Linked DNA regions of Homo sapiens: all the other regions are linked to region 1. The links are contacts of gene promoters, found by promoter capture Hi-C in blood cells and fetal thymus (Javierre and others, 2016). All regions are on one chromosome and are shown on one strand. The core of a region is centred on a gene start or on the middle of the fragment in contact, and the rest is flanking DNA. Distances in the headings are between cores, read along the strand shown. Region 1 holds the start of ACSBG2 (acyl-CoA synthetase bubblegum family member 2). Region 2 overlaps TUBB4A (tubulin beta 4A class IVa). Region 3 holds the start of CD70 (CD70 molecule). Region 4 holds the start of KHSRP (KH-type splicing regulatory protein).

Region 1 (3,157 bases), core at 242-2,741:
AGGCCACGAGGTGGAGACCAGCCTGGCCAACATGGTGAAAACCCATCTCTACTAAAAATACAGAAAATTAGTCGGGAGTGGTGGTGCATGCCTGTAACCTCAGCTACTTGGGAGGCTGAGGCAGGAGAATCGCTTGAACCCGGGAGGCAGAGGTTGCAGTGAGCCAAGATCACGCTATTGCACTCCAGTCTGGGCAACAAGAGCCAAACTCCGTCTCTCTCTCTCTCTCACACACACACACAAAAGGCCCTGGAGACAAAGGAACACTCCTTGTCCTTTTCTCCTGGCACAGCACAAGATTCTGTTGCTACATCTTTATTTACTGAGCATCTAGTATGTGCTGCACCTGGCACTGTTTTGTCTTTTTTGTTTTGAGACAAGGTCTTGCTCTGTAGGCCTGGCTGGAGTGCCATGGTACCATCACAGCTCACTGCAGCCTGGAACTCCTGGGCTCAAACAATCCCCCCACCTCAGCCTCCCTACTAGCTGTGGTTACACTTGCGCACCACCACGCCCGGCTAATTTTTTAAATTTTTCTGTAGAGACGGGGTCTTACTACATTGCCCAGGCTGGTTTTGAACTCCTGGCCTCAAGTGATGCTACGGACTTGGCCTCCCAAAGTGCTGGGATTCCAGGCACAAGCCACTGTGCCTGGTAGTGGACATTGTTAGCAGTGACTAAAGCAGAGAACGAGAAGGGGGAGGCCGCTGTAAACACATGAAGACAGGCAGCGTAAGAGAAAGTCACGAGGGCAGGAATAACATCCAGGCATACTTCAGATCCCAGCTCAAGAAACCACTCCCAGGCCAGGCGCGGTGGCTCACGCCTGTCATCTCAGCACTTTGGGAGGCCAAGGCGGGCGGATCACAAGGTCAGGAGTTTGAGACCAGCCTGGCCAACATGGCGAAACCCCGTCTGTACTAAAAATACAAAAGATTAGCCGGGCGTGGTGGCGGGCGCCTGTAATCCCAGCTACTCGGGAGGCTGAGGCAGGAGAATCGCTTGAACCTGGGAGGCAGACGTTGCAGTGAACTGAGATCGCACCATTGCACTCCAGCCTGGGTGACAGAGCAAGACTCCCGTCTCAAAAAACGAAAGAAAAGAAAGAAACCACTCCCAGACTCCCTGCCTGGGCGGGATCCTTTGATCAAGCCCTCAACATGCCTTGGGGCTCTCTTCACAATGGTAAGTTTGCATTTGTTTGTGTGATTCTAGGCCTCCTCTTATTTTCTTGAACAGGCCTCATCTGGCTTTGTTCATCTTTATGTCTCCAGCATCCAGCACAATCCCTGCCATTAGGGTCATGGCTTCATAAAAACGTCACGAATGCAACGCAGAAGTGCATGCATGCATGAATAAATGAATGATGCATGAAAAGAGCAATCTCCCTGTCCTGGAAGCAGCTTCCCCTAGGGGTGGGGGTGGGGTGCGGAGGCAGGGGCAGCCAGTGATGTCACAAGAGGTGGCTGGGATGGAACGTTCTGGAAGGTTGAATGGGGTAGAAGGCCTGTTGTGGAGGGAAACCACCCATCCTCCTGCCTCCCACCACCACCATCATCCTGGCTGGACGGAGAGGGTGACGGGGGCTGGGAAGGGGCAGCTCATGTTCAGGTTTCCAGGAGGGGCTACCTGTTGACTGTCTTTGCAGGAAGAAGAAAACACCTGAGTGACCAGATGTCCCAGCTCCAGGTGCCTTGCCAGATGGCCAGAACCACACCTCTTGAAGAGTGACAGGTGCCAGTGGTATGGGAGAAGGGCATGCGTTTTCTTTTCTTTTTTTTTTGAGACAGGGTCTCACTCTTTTGCCCAGGCTATAGTGCAGTGGCACGATCTCAGCTCACTGCAACCTCTGCCTCCCAGGCTCAAGTGATACTCCCACCTCAACCTCCCAAGTAGCTGAGATTACAGGCGCCTGCCACCATGTCCAGCTAATTTTTTTTTTTTTTTTGAGACAGAGTCTTGCTCTGTTGCCCAGGCGCAATCTCGGCTCACTGCAAGCTTCGCCTCCCAGGTTCACACCATTCTCCTGCCTCAGCCTCCTGAGTAGCTGGGACTACAGGTGCCTGCCACCATGCCCGGCTAATTTTTTGTATTTTTTAGTAGAGATGGGGTTTCACCACATTAGCCAGGATAGTCTCAATCTCCTGACCTCGTGATCCACCCGCCTTGGCCTCCCAAAGTGCTGGGATTACAGGCGTGAGCCGCCATACTCGGCCTAATTTTTATATTTTTAGTAGAGATGGGGTTTCGCCATACCAGCCAGGCTGGTCTTGAACTTCTGACCTCAGGTGATCCACCCGCCTCGACCTCTCAAAGTGCTGGGATTATAGGCACGCGCCACCATGCCCAGCTAATTTTTGTATTTTTAGTAGAGATGGGGTTTCACCATGCCAGCCAGGCTGGTCTCGAACTCCTGGCCTCAAGCGATCCACCCGACTCAGCCTCCCAAAGTGCTGGGATTACAGGTGTGAGTCACCACATCTGAACCCTACATGGCCTTTTAAAATTGTGAAACATATAATGCATATAAAATAACACAAAGCATATCTGTACGATTTAATGAATAACGATAAATATCTGTGTGCCCTTTTCACTTCGTGAAATCGAATATTACTAGTAACTTACAAGTCCTCTGTAGAGAACTCCTGAGCTCAAGTGATCCACCTGCCACGGCCTCCCAAAGTGCTGGGATCACAGGTGTGAGCCTCCGCACCCGGCCGATCGTGTGATTTTTAACGTGCAGTTCCCTGATGACCAAAGCTACTGAGCATCTTGTCCAGGATTTGTAGCCCTTTCCAGGCTCCTTTTTTGTGAACTGCCTGTTTACATTTTTCATCATAAAACACTGGGTTGTTTACATTTGTCTTTTAAATCCAGAGTTCTTTTCATACTCCGGATACTAATTTTATTTGCCCATTTTGCATTGCCATAAAGTAATACCTGAAGATGGGCAATTTATAAAGAAAAGAGGGGCCTGGTGTGGTGGCTCACACCTGCAAATCCCAGCACTTTGGGAGGCCGAGGTGGCGGGGTTGGGGGGGGGGGGGGGGCTTGCTTGAGGCCAGGAGTTCAAGACCGGCCTGGGCAATATAGCGAGGCCCCCAGCTCTACAAAAATAAAAATAAAAATAAATTAGCCAGGCGTAGTGGCATGCTTC
Region 2 (3,217 bases), core at 697-3,196, 360 kb after region 1:
AGACCATCCTGGCTAACACAGTGAAACCCTGTCTCTACTGAAAATACAAAAAATTAGCCGGGCGAGGTGGCGGGCGCCTGTAGTCCCAGCTACTCGGGAGGCTGAGCCTGCAGTGAGCCGAGATCGTGCCACTGCACTCCAGCCTGGGCGACAGCAAGACTCCGTCTCAAAAAAAAAAAAAAAAAAAAAGAAGAATATTGGCCAGGCGTGGTGGCTCACGCTTGTAAACCCAGCACTTTGGGAGGCCGAGGCGGGCGGATAGCGAGGTCAGGAGATCAAGACTATCCCGGCTAACACGGTGAAACCCCGTCTCTACTAAAAATAGAAAAAATTAGCTGGATGTGGTGGTGGGTGCCTGTAGTCTCAGCTACTCGGGAGGCTGAGGCAGGAGAATGGCGTGAACCCAGGAGGTGGAGCTTGCAGTGAGCCGAGATCGCGCCACTGCACTCCAGCCTGGGCGACAGAGTGAGACTTTGTCTCAAAAAAAAAAAAAATGGAATAAAAAAAAGAATATTGGCCGGTATTACTGTGAACAGCTAACGTTTTCTTTCACCCCTCATCTGTCTCCACCTTAGTTCAGCTCCAGCATCACCCTCCTGGATAAGTTCAATTCCCTCTGTCCTGGTCCCCTGGCTCCTACCCTTATCACCCAGTCTGTCCTCTCCACAGTACCCACGAGAGGACACCTGAGAGCAAGTAAGTCAGGTCCCGTCCCTCCTCTGCCTACAGCCCTCCATGGCTCCCACCTACCTTGGGGTCAAAGCCCAAATCCTCCCTGCAGGCCACAAGGCCCTGCCGGACCTGCCCCATCCCCTCCCTCACTCTGCTTCAGCCGCAGCTGTTACTCCAGCTTTCCAGGTGTGGTCCTGCCCTGGGGCCTTTGCACTAGTGGCTTGGCTGCTTAGAATGCTTTCCCCCCAGGTATTCACCTGACTTTTTCCTCACTTCCTTCAGGTCTCAGCTCAATGCCACATCCTCAGAGAAGCCACCTCTGGTCACCCCCTCCCTCCTCCTCCCGAGCCTGGTGGTTTAGACTGCAGATTCTCGGGACTGACAAGACAAACTGTGTGACCTTGGACAAGTGACTTCCCCTTTCTGATCTGTTGGAAGATTTCAAAACATAATGATGCAGTTTTGTGGCCGTGGCCCATCATAGGTCCTTGGGAAATGGCTGGGTGAAATCAAGATGAAATGAGATTGGCCAAATGGTGTGAGTGATTTCAGGAGGACCAGAGGGCTTACAGTTGGGCCAAGAGATTCTATGGCCTCTGGGTGGCCAGGGGGTGGGAGGAGCATTAAAAGTGTGGGCTCAGACCAGGCGCGGTTGCTCATGCCTGTAATCCCAGCACTTTGGGAAGCAGAGGCAGGCAGATCACCTGAGAGGTCAGGAATAGGAGACCAGCCTGGCCAACATGGCGAAACCCCGTCACTATTAAAAATACAAAAAATTAGCTAGGTGTGGTGATGCATGCCTGTAGTCCCAGCTACTCGTGAGGCAGGAGAATCGCTTGAATCTGGGAGGTGGAGGTTGCGTCACTGCACTCCAGCCTGGGCAACGGAGACTCCGTCTCAAAAAAAAAAAAAAGCGTGGACCTAGTAGTCAGACCCTCTCCTCTGGCTCCTGACAGCCCCAGTGGCTTGCAGTGTGACTTTCTGCAAGTGACCTAACGTCTCTGTGCCTCTGTTTTCTCACCTGTAAAATGGAAGTAAGAGGCGAGTTGCGGAAAAGATTCAGAGAGGCAGGACAGGTCCTGCATTTAGCACGTCTTACATGCTGGGAGTATTGGAGGCGGGTGGAGCCAGGGTGGGGACATGCAGCCAGCTGGAGCCAGGAAAGCTTTCCCGGAAGGATTGTCCCAGGGTGTGGACACCCCACTATCTTCACATATGCTGTTGCCTCCGTCTTAAACATCTTTCCTCCCTTCCATGCCCTTTGGCCAGTCCAAATCCTACTCACATTCTAGACTGCAGATAGTAATGAAAACAACGACAAATGCTTATTTACCTCTTTCTCTGTGTCAGGCATTGTTCTAAACTCTACACATATTCATGACTTTAAGCTTCACAATTTTTTTTTTTTTTTGGAGACGAAGTTTCACTCTTGTTGCCCACGCTGGGGTGCAGTGTCATGATCTTGGCTCACCACAACCTCTGCCGTTCAAGCAATTCTCTTGCCTCAGCCTCCCGAGTAGCTGGGATTACAGGCATGTGCCACCATGCCTGGCTAATTTTTTATTTTTAGTAGAGATGGGGTTTCTCCATGTTAGTCAGGCTGGTCTCAAACTCCCGACCTCAGGTGATCCACCCGCCTCGGCCTCCCAAAGTGCTGGGATTACAGGTGTGAGCCACCGTGCCCACCCTGAGCCTCACAATTCTAATAGCATTTTAGAATCCCTGTTTTATTTGATCTTTTTTAGAGATGGGGTCTCACACCATCGCTCAGGCTGGAGTGCAGTGGCACCATCATAGCTCATGGCAGCCTCAACCTCCCAGGCTCAAGTGATTCTCCTACCTTAGCCTCACGAGTAGCTGTGACTACAGGTGCACACCACCTCACTCAGCTAATTAAAATTTTTTTCTTTTTGTAGAGACAGGGTCTCACCATGGTGCCCAGGCTGGTCTCGAACTCCTGACCTCAAGCTCTCTTCCTGACTCAGCCTCCCAAAGTCCTGGGTTTATAGGCATGAACCACCATGCCCAGTGAAATCCCTGTTTTAAAGACGAGGAGGCCGGGCAAGGTGGCTCATGCTTGTAATCCAGCACTTTGGGAGCTGAGTTGGGTGGATCGTTTGAGTCCCGGAGTTTGAGACCAGCATGGGCAACATAGAGAGACCCACCTCTCTACAAAGAAAACTAAAAAATTAGCTGGGTGTGGTGGTGCATGCCTGTAGGTCCAGCTACTTGGGAGACTGAGGCAAGAGGATCACGTGTGCCCAGAGGTGGAGGTGACAGTGAGCCGTGATCATGCCACTGCACTCTAGCCTGGGTGACAGCAGGACAGACAGACCCTGTCTGAAAAAAAAAAAAAAAAGAGGATTTTTGAGGCCCAGAAAGGCTGAGGAGCCCATCCTAAGTTATCCATCTGAATCAACCCCTGGCAGAGCTTTACTTATTTATCTCCTTTGTGGCCTATCACCTTCTACCAGAATGGGAGCTGCACTGGGGCAGAGAGGGAGCTCCGGCTGTTTGATTCTTACCTGGATCTCCAGCTTCTAGA
Region 3 (3,048 bases), core at 424-2,923, 460 kb after region 1:
CCTCCCAGGTTCAGGCGATTCTCCTGCCTCGGCCTCCTGAGTAGCTGGGATTACAGGTGCCTGCCACCACACCCGGCTAATTTTTGTAATTTTAGTAGAGACGGGGTTTCACCATGTTGGCCAGGCTGGTCTCAAACTCCTGGGCTCAAGTGATCCACCCGCCGCGCCCTCCGAAAGCGCTGGGATTACAGGCTCCAGCAACCACGCCAGGTCGCCTCTCTCGTTTTTATTCTCTCTTCCTCTATCTGTCTTTTTTCTCTTTCTCCGTCTCTCTCCCTCTCTCTCGTTCTGTCTCCCCCGCCTGTCTCCCTCCCTCCCTCTTCCACTCTCCCTGCGTCTCTCCCTGTTTCTTTCTTTCCCCTTCTTCTCCTGTCCCGTCTGTCCCCTCTGTCCCTCTCTCTGTTCTTTTTTCTGTCTCTCCCTCCCTTTCTCTGGGCCTCTCCCTCCCTCTCTGTCTTCTCTCTGTCTCCCCCTCTCCGTTTCCCTCCCTATCTCTCCCTCCCTCTCTCCCTCCGTCTCTGTCTGTGTCTCTTTCTCTCTGTCTCTCCCCACTTGTCTTTCTACCTCTCCTTCCTTCTCTCTCTGTGCCTCTTCTTCTCCCCGTCCCTCCACGTCCCCCGTGTTACCTGTGTGATTCAGCTGCAGCTCAGCTACGTCCCACTGGAAGAAAAGACCAGAAAACAGGGCACGGACGTAAGCAGAGAGGTTCTATGTGTCCCCTGTGCCAGGAGCTCTCTTTTCTCTGTCCATCCTCCTTTCCACCTCTCATCCCACGGCGCGCACTGGTGATTTTATTTCATTTTATTTTTTTTTACTCTTAAGACTTCTTAAAGAGGAAGCAGGTCTGAACCAGCGGGGAACGTGAAGTCGAGACCTTCAAAAGAACTTCTTCGTTTCCCGAATCGTTTTCCTGGATGTCACTGGGCGCGAGAGCACCGCGCGCAGCGGACTCTCTACGCTGCAAAGGCGCCCGGCGCGGTCCCCAAAGGGACCCCTCCCCCACCCGGAGCGAGTGGCTGGGGCCATCCCGTCCTAGGAGGCCCCAGGAAGCCCCCACGCCCAGCCTTGTGAAGCCCCCAGCAGCCTCTGAGTCAGCCTGCCGGGGGAACACCAGAGCCGAGTCATCTTCCATTTCCATGTGTGCCTACCTTTCCCATCCCGGGATCTCCCTGTACCTCCTGGCAGGGCTGCCTGTCTCGTAGCCCCTACACCGGGCAGCCTGGTCCCCGCCTCGCCTCCCTGTTCTGGTCTCTGTCTCTGCCCTACCAGATCTTCCTCTCTGGCCTCTTTGTACCCATCTCATTCTGTCTTTTCGGTCACGCGCCTCTCTATGTTTTCTTCCCAACTTTTCCATCTCAACTCACCCCAAGTGACTCGAGCGGCAGCTGCTGCTGAGCCTGTGCGAAGCGCTGGATGCACACCACGAGGCAGATCACCAAGCCCGCGACCAATGGGACCAAAGCAGCCCGCAGGACGCACCCATAGGGCCTGCGCCGCACCGAGCAGCCCGAACCCTCCTCCGGCATCGCCGCGGCGATCACCTCCGCTAGCGCAGGAGGGGCGATGGGGGCGCGGAGCGCTGCCGAGAAGGAAGGAAGGAAACTGCAGCCCCCTCCCGGGGCTCCTGGGCGTCTACTTGCTTCAACCTGTCAGGGGACCAGCCTGCCCCTCTCTGGGGATGTCCGGCCGGTCGAGGGGAGGGACTTGAGCAATTGGCGAGGGGAAATTCCCTCCAACCGCTGCCAGTCTGAAGATCCTAAAGTGGGTGGAGGCAGTTGCCAGGATGCAGGCAGTGGCCCCGGGTGAGCCTCAGAGTTGCCTGCCCCCAACCCCTCCCCGCCCGACCTTCAGGCAGGAGACATTCAATCTTCCTATTCCCCTCTCCACCTCATTCTTCTGGGGCCCATTCATTTATTCAACAAACCTCCACTGCACATTTATTAGGGATTAGATTGTGCTGTGCACTGGGGATACAGCAGACATCCAAGAATTGGGGGTGCTCCCCAAATATTCGTGTACCCCTCTCCTGCATTTTTTTGATTTGTTTTGTTTTTGAGACGGAGGTCTCCCTCTGTCACCCAGGCTGGAGTGCAGTGGCGCCATCTCAGCTCGCCGCAACCTCGATCTCCTGGGTTCAAGCGATTCTCCTGTCTGAGCCTCGCGAGTAGCTGGGAGTAACATGCGCGCGCCACCATGCCTGGCTAATTTTTTGTATTTTTAGTAGAGATGGGGTTTCACCATGTTGGCCAGGCTGGACTTGAACTCCTGACCTTGGGTGATCCACCCGCCTTGGCCTTCCAAAGTGCTGGGATTAAAGGCATGAGACACTGCACCCGGTCAGTTATCTCCTGCATTCTTGGAGACCACCTGCTTTTTTGTTTAAAGTTAAATTAAGTTAATATTTTTATTTTTTATTTTTATTTTATTTTATTATTTATTTTTTTTTTTTTTGAGACAGAGTCTCGCTCTGTCGCCCAGGCTGGAGTGCAGTGGCGCCATCTCGGCTCACTGCAAGCTCCGCCTCCCGGGTTCACGCCATTCTCCTGCCTCAGCCTCTCAAGTAGCTGGGACTACAGGCGCCCGCCACCACGCCCGGCTAACTTTTTGTATTTTTAGTAGAGATGGGTTTTCACCATGTTAGCGAGGATGGTCTCCATCTCCTGACCTCGTGATCTGCCCGCCTTGGCCTCCCAAAGTGCTGGGATTACAGGCGTGAGCCGCCGCGCCCGGCCTAAATTAATATTTTTAGAGACAGAGTGTTGCTCTGTTGCCCAGGCTGGATGCAGTGGCGCCACACAGCTCACAGCAGCCTCAAACTCCTGGGCTTCAGTGACCCTCCCATCTCAGCCTTTTGCATAGTTGGGTCTACCAGCACACGCTACCATGCCCGGCTAATTTTTTTTTTGGGGGGGGTAGAGGATAGGGTGTTACTATGTTACCAGGCTGGTCTCAAACATCTGGGCTCAAGCGATCCTGCTGCGTAGGTCCCCCAAAGTGCCGGGATGACAGGTGTGAGCCACCGCATCCAGCCTCCTGCTGCTGTTCTCG
Region 4 (3,138 bases), core at 397-2,896, 290 kb after region 1:
GCTACTCGGGAGGCTGAGGCAGGAGGAGCACTTCAACTGGAGAGGTGGAGGCTGTGGTGTGCTGAGATCGTGCCACTGCACCCCTGCCTGGGTGATATTGAGACTGTTTCCAAAAAACAAACAAACAAACAAAAAACCAAGACTCTATGGGACACAAGTTACATCTCAGACACGTGAAGAGCAACTTTAAAGAAACCTCAACCCAGCAAACTTAGGATCAGAGTCTGGGGTTTAGAAACCCAAACCATGTTAAGAATCTCCCTTTCCACCAGTCTCCATTTTTCTACGCTGCCCTAGAGCCAAAACTCATGGGATGCCCACAGGGGGCCTGTCCCCACCAACTGACAGCACCAGCTTCCTCCCTTCAAGCTGTCCCAGAATCAGACGGTTCCATGGGCAATAAGACCAAATGCACGCTAGAACCCACCCAACTCCAAGGGTGAGAGAGACGACAGAGGGCCAGAACACAGGCGTTCACTTAACGGGACCTCCCACCTTGGGAGGAGCCAGTCTCTAGCCCCGGAGGCATTGGGACAGCCCAGGAGCCGGTCGGCGGCAAAGTCCTCCCATTCTACCGACCCCCACCCCTCCAGGCCATGGGGAGGCTGCAAATGGAGCTGGAGAGGTCAGTCCTAGCAGCATGTGACACTTCCTTGTCATTACGCCTCAATACACGGGGGTGGGAGACCCTCCCTTCTTTCCCCCAAAGAGACAGACCACGCTTTCAAGCCACCAAAGCATCCAAGAGCCAGTCCCCATGCTCGTCTTCCCCATTTCGCCCAAGTGCTCAGCCCTAGACAGGTCCCCATCCACTTTCCCGACTGAAGAGGAAGGACTGTCCCTCCCACCCCCACAATGTCCCTTTCTCCTAGAGAGGGGACAGAAATGGGACTGGGTTGGGGGCAAACACTGCCCTTTGCCCTGATATGGAGGGGAGAGTAAAGGCCCTCCGCCCGGGAAGGTGGACCCCTGCCTCCAGGCATGTCCTAAGGCCGGGGGGCTAAGGGGGGGGTCCCAAAAGTGCGTCTCCGAGCTCCGGGGCGCCTGCACACCCAGGCGCCGCTCCTGGTGACCCCCAGTGCGCCCCTACTCCCTGCAGGGGGGTCACCCGTTGGGATCCCACTCGAGGCGCAGCGGGAGGGCCAGGCCCCCGCCTACCGCCCACGTGACCCCGCGACGGCCCCGGCCCCCCTCCGCGACCCTGCGCGCGCGCGCGCACGTGACCCCCGCCCCCTCCCCCGCCTGCGCGCGCGCGCGAGCGCGCCCCTCAGGCCCTCGGCCTCCTCACCTGGCGGGCCCGCTGCACGGCGTCGGCGAAAGCGTCCTTGCGGATTCCCGGGCCGCCTCCGCCGGGTGGCTGAGAGGGGCCCCCGGCCGACCCCCCGCCCGGGCCGCCGCCGCCGGGACCGCCGCCGCCCCGGTCCCCCGCGCCTGGCGGGCCCGGCGGAGGGCCTCCCCCGGCGCCTCCGGCTCCCCCGCCCCCGCCGGCGGGCGGCGGCGGCCCGGGCGGGGGTCCTCCCGTGCTGTAGTCCGACATGGCGCGGCGGGGCCGGGCCTGGCGCGGAGGCTGAAGCTGAGGAGGCGGCGGCGGCGGCGGCGGCTCAACGCGGGAACAAGGCCTCGCTCCACACGGCCGCGGAGCACTCTGGGAACCCAGCCGCTGGGAGGACGACGAGGGGGGAGAGAGTCGCCCCTCCCGCCGCCGACGTGACGGACGACTCCGGCGGGCCAATGGGAGGCAGCCGCCGCACCCCGGACACCAATCGCGAGCTCTGTAGGAGGTGGCCAATCGGAGTGCAATGAGGGGCAGTGGGCGGGAGGCTCAGAGTGACTGACAGCTCTCAGAGGCAATAGCTGCGAGCTGCCCGTGCTGGGCGGGCAAATGAAGGAGATCTGAGAAGGCAGGAGGCCCAATGAAACGCGAGTGCCAGATTCGCGGGGCGGCTTCAGAATTAGATTGACGGTTCTGAAGAGTCACGTGGACTGTAAGGCCGGGCCTAGTGGAAGACTCCTATGGACCGGCTGGGTGGGCGTTAGGTTTGATAGTCGTGGACACAAGCCAATGAATGCACGTGAGAGGTGGTGCTTGTAAAGATGGGCAGCCAATTAATCCAATTCCTGACGAGTTCTGGGTGATGAGGTTGGCTTTGGACTTTAATTGCTTCCCTTGTTAACCAGAATCCTTTTCTATCCCTGACTTCTAAGCCAATGGCTGAGCGACATGGGTGGGTGTTCGGTGACTGACACTGGTCTGGACAAATGGGAATGAAGGAAATCAAAGCGCCCACTTTTGGTGGGAGCCAGTGGAAGCGCCGCTGCATTGGGGCGGAGTCGGCCACCAGACAGCGAGGGGATTAGCGGGAACTGTAGTGAATGGCAGCCGACGTGGGCGGTGGCAATCGGCTGCCCGAACTCAGGCCTGATGTCTGGGTTAGCTCACCGGCAGCCTGGTTGGGTAGGCCCGGCACGTGGCCCGCTTGAAGCCTTAGAGATCGAGCGCTTCCGGAGGTGGGGAGGCCGGAAAGCAGGAAACTCGGGATCCCCCGGGCCTTCTTCTCTCTCGACCCCCCATCTAGAGCGTCCAGTTCTCTTGCAGGACTCAAGGAACCAGCCCCACTCACGAGTCCAGAACCGTTCCAACAACCGGGATCGAGGGATCACAGCCTCGATCACACCCCTCACTTCACACCCCTCACTCCCTTCGCCTAAGGCCCTGGGATCCAAGCCTCAAGCTCCTATCCTAGGTCCTCACTTCCTCTCCTGGACACAAATTCCCATTCAGGACCCAGAGGCCCAAGGTCCCCAGCTCCCCTACTGGGTCCAGGGATCTCATGCACCCAGTTCCACTCCTAGGCCCAAGTATCCAGACACGTTCAGCAAAAACCATCTCTTTATTCCTTGTTGTGTGACATGTTCACCATTTCGCCCTGGAGCCAGGACGACCCACAAGGGGCCAGACTGGAGTCCACGTTTCTTGTCTCAGGCTGCACCCTGGGGAGGGAGTCCCAGGAGTTTTCTGACCCAGCACTGCCCCCCTCCACCCACCACCAACCCCAGCTTCAGGAATCTTCTGACCCAGAGCCCCACCCCCACCCCCAGCCTGCTTTTGCCACCAAAAACTGCCCCAGGGCCTGAACC

What was found. The method cuts DNA at HindIII sites, captures the fragments that hold promoters and counts their contacts. A CHiCAGO score of 5 or more calls a contact.
Region 2: a fragment that was not itself captured here is called in contact with the fragment with the promoter of ACSBG2 in region 1 in 1 of 17 cell types (M0 macrophages); the score reaches 5.7 in M0 macrophages.
Region 3: a contact is called between the fragment with the promoter of CD70 here and the fragment with the promoter of ACSBG2 in region 1, in 5 of 17 cell types (M0 macrophages, M2 macrophages, erythroblasts and 2 more). The highest score is 8.9, in M0 macrophages.
Region 4: a contact is called between the fragment with the promoter of KHSRP here and the fragment with the promoter of ACSBG2 in region 1, in 1 of 17 cell types (erythroblasts). The highest score is 5.3, in erythroblasts.

The regions. Positions count from the first base shown.
Region 1 is chr19:6,134,176-6,137,332 of GRCh38, forward strand. It overlaps ACSBG2 (acyl-CoA synthetase bubblegum family member 2), which reads left to right and starts at 1,492. Exons shown (of 15, transcript NM_030924.5): 1 at 1,492-1,734. The region is part of intron 3 of LOC105372255 (a long non-coding RNA gene); the gene reads right to left. RefSeq lists enhancers at 456-1,359, 1,360-2,262. The HindIII fragment of the contact is 9,635 bases long and covers 1-1,996 here.
Region 2 is chr19:6,497,731-6,500,947 of GRCh38, forward strand. The region is part of intron 3 of TUBB4A (tubulin beta 4A class IVa); the gene reads right to left. Among named protein-coding and RNA genes, the nearest start is that of TUBB4A, 3.0 kb to the right of the region's middle. The HindIII fragment of the contact is 223 bases long and covers 1,836-2,058 here.
Region 3 is chr19:6,589,477-6,592,524 of GRCh38, forward strand. CD70 (CD70 molecule) reads right to left here and starts at 1,674. Exons shown (of 3, transcript NM_001252.5): 1 at 1,365-1,674; 2 at 627-660. The coding sequence starts at 1,526. RefSeq lists enhancers at 574-943, 1,444-1,843, 2,914-3,048. The HindIII fragment of the contact is 5,862 bases long and covers 1-3,048 here.
Region 4 is chr19:6,423,165-6,426,302 of GRCh38, forward strand. It overlaps KHSRP (KH-type splicing regulatory protein), which reads right to left and starts at 1,647. Exons shown (of 19, transcript NM_001366299.1): 1 at 1,289-1,647. The coding sequence starts at 1,537. SLC25A41 (solute carrier family 25 member 41) reads right to left here. Exons shown (of 7, transcript NM_173637.4): 7 at 2,873-3,138. RefSeq lists an enhancer at 1,955-2,074. The HindIII fragment of the contact is 19,014 bases long and covers 1-3,138 here.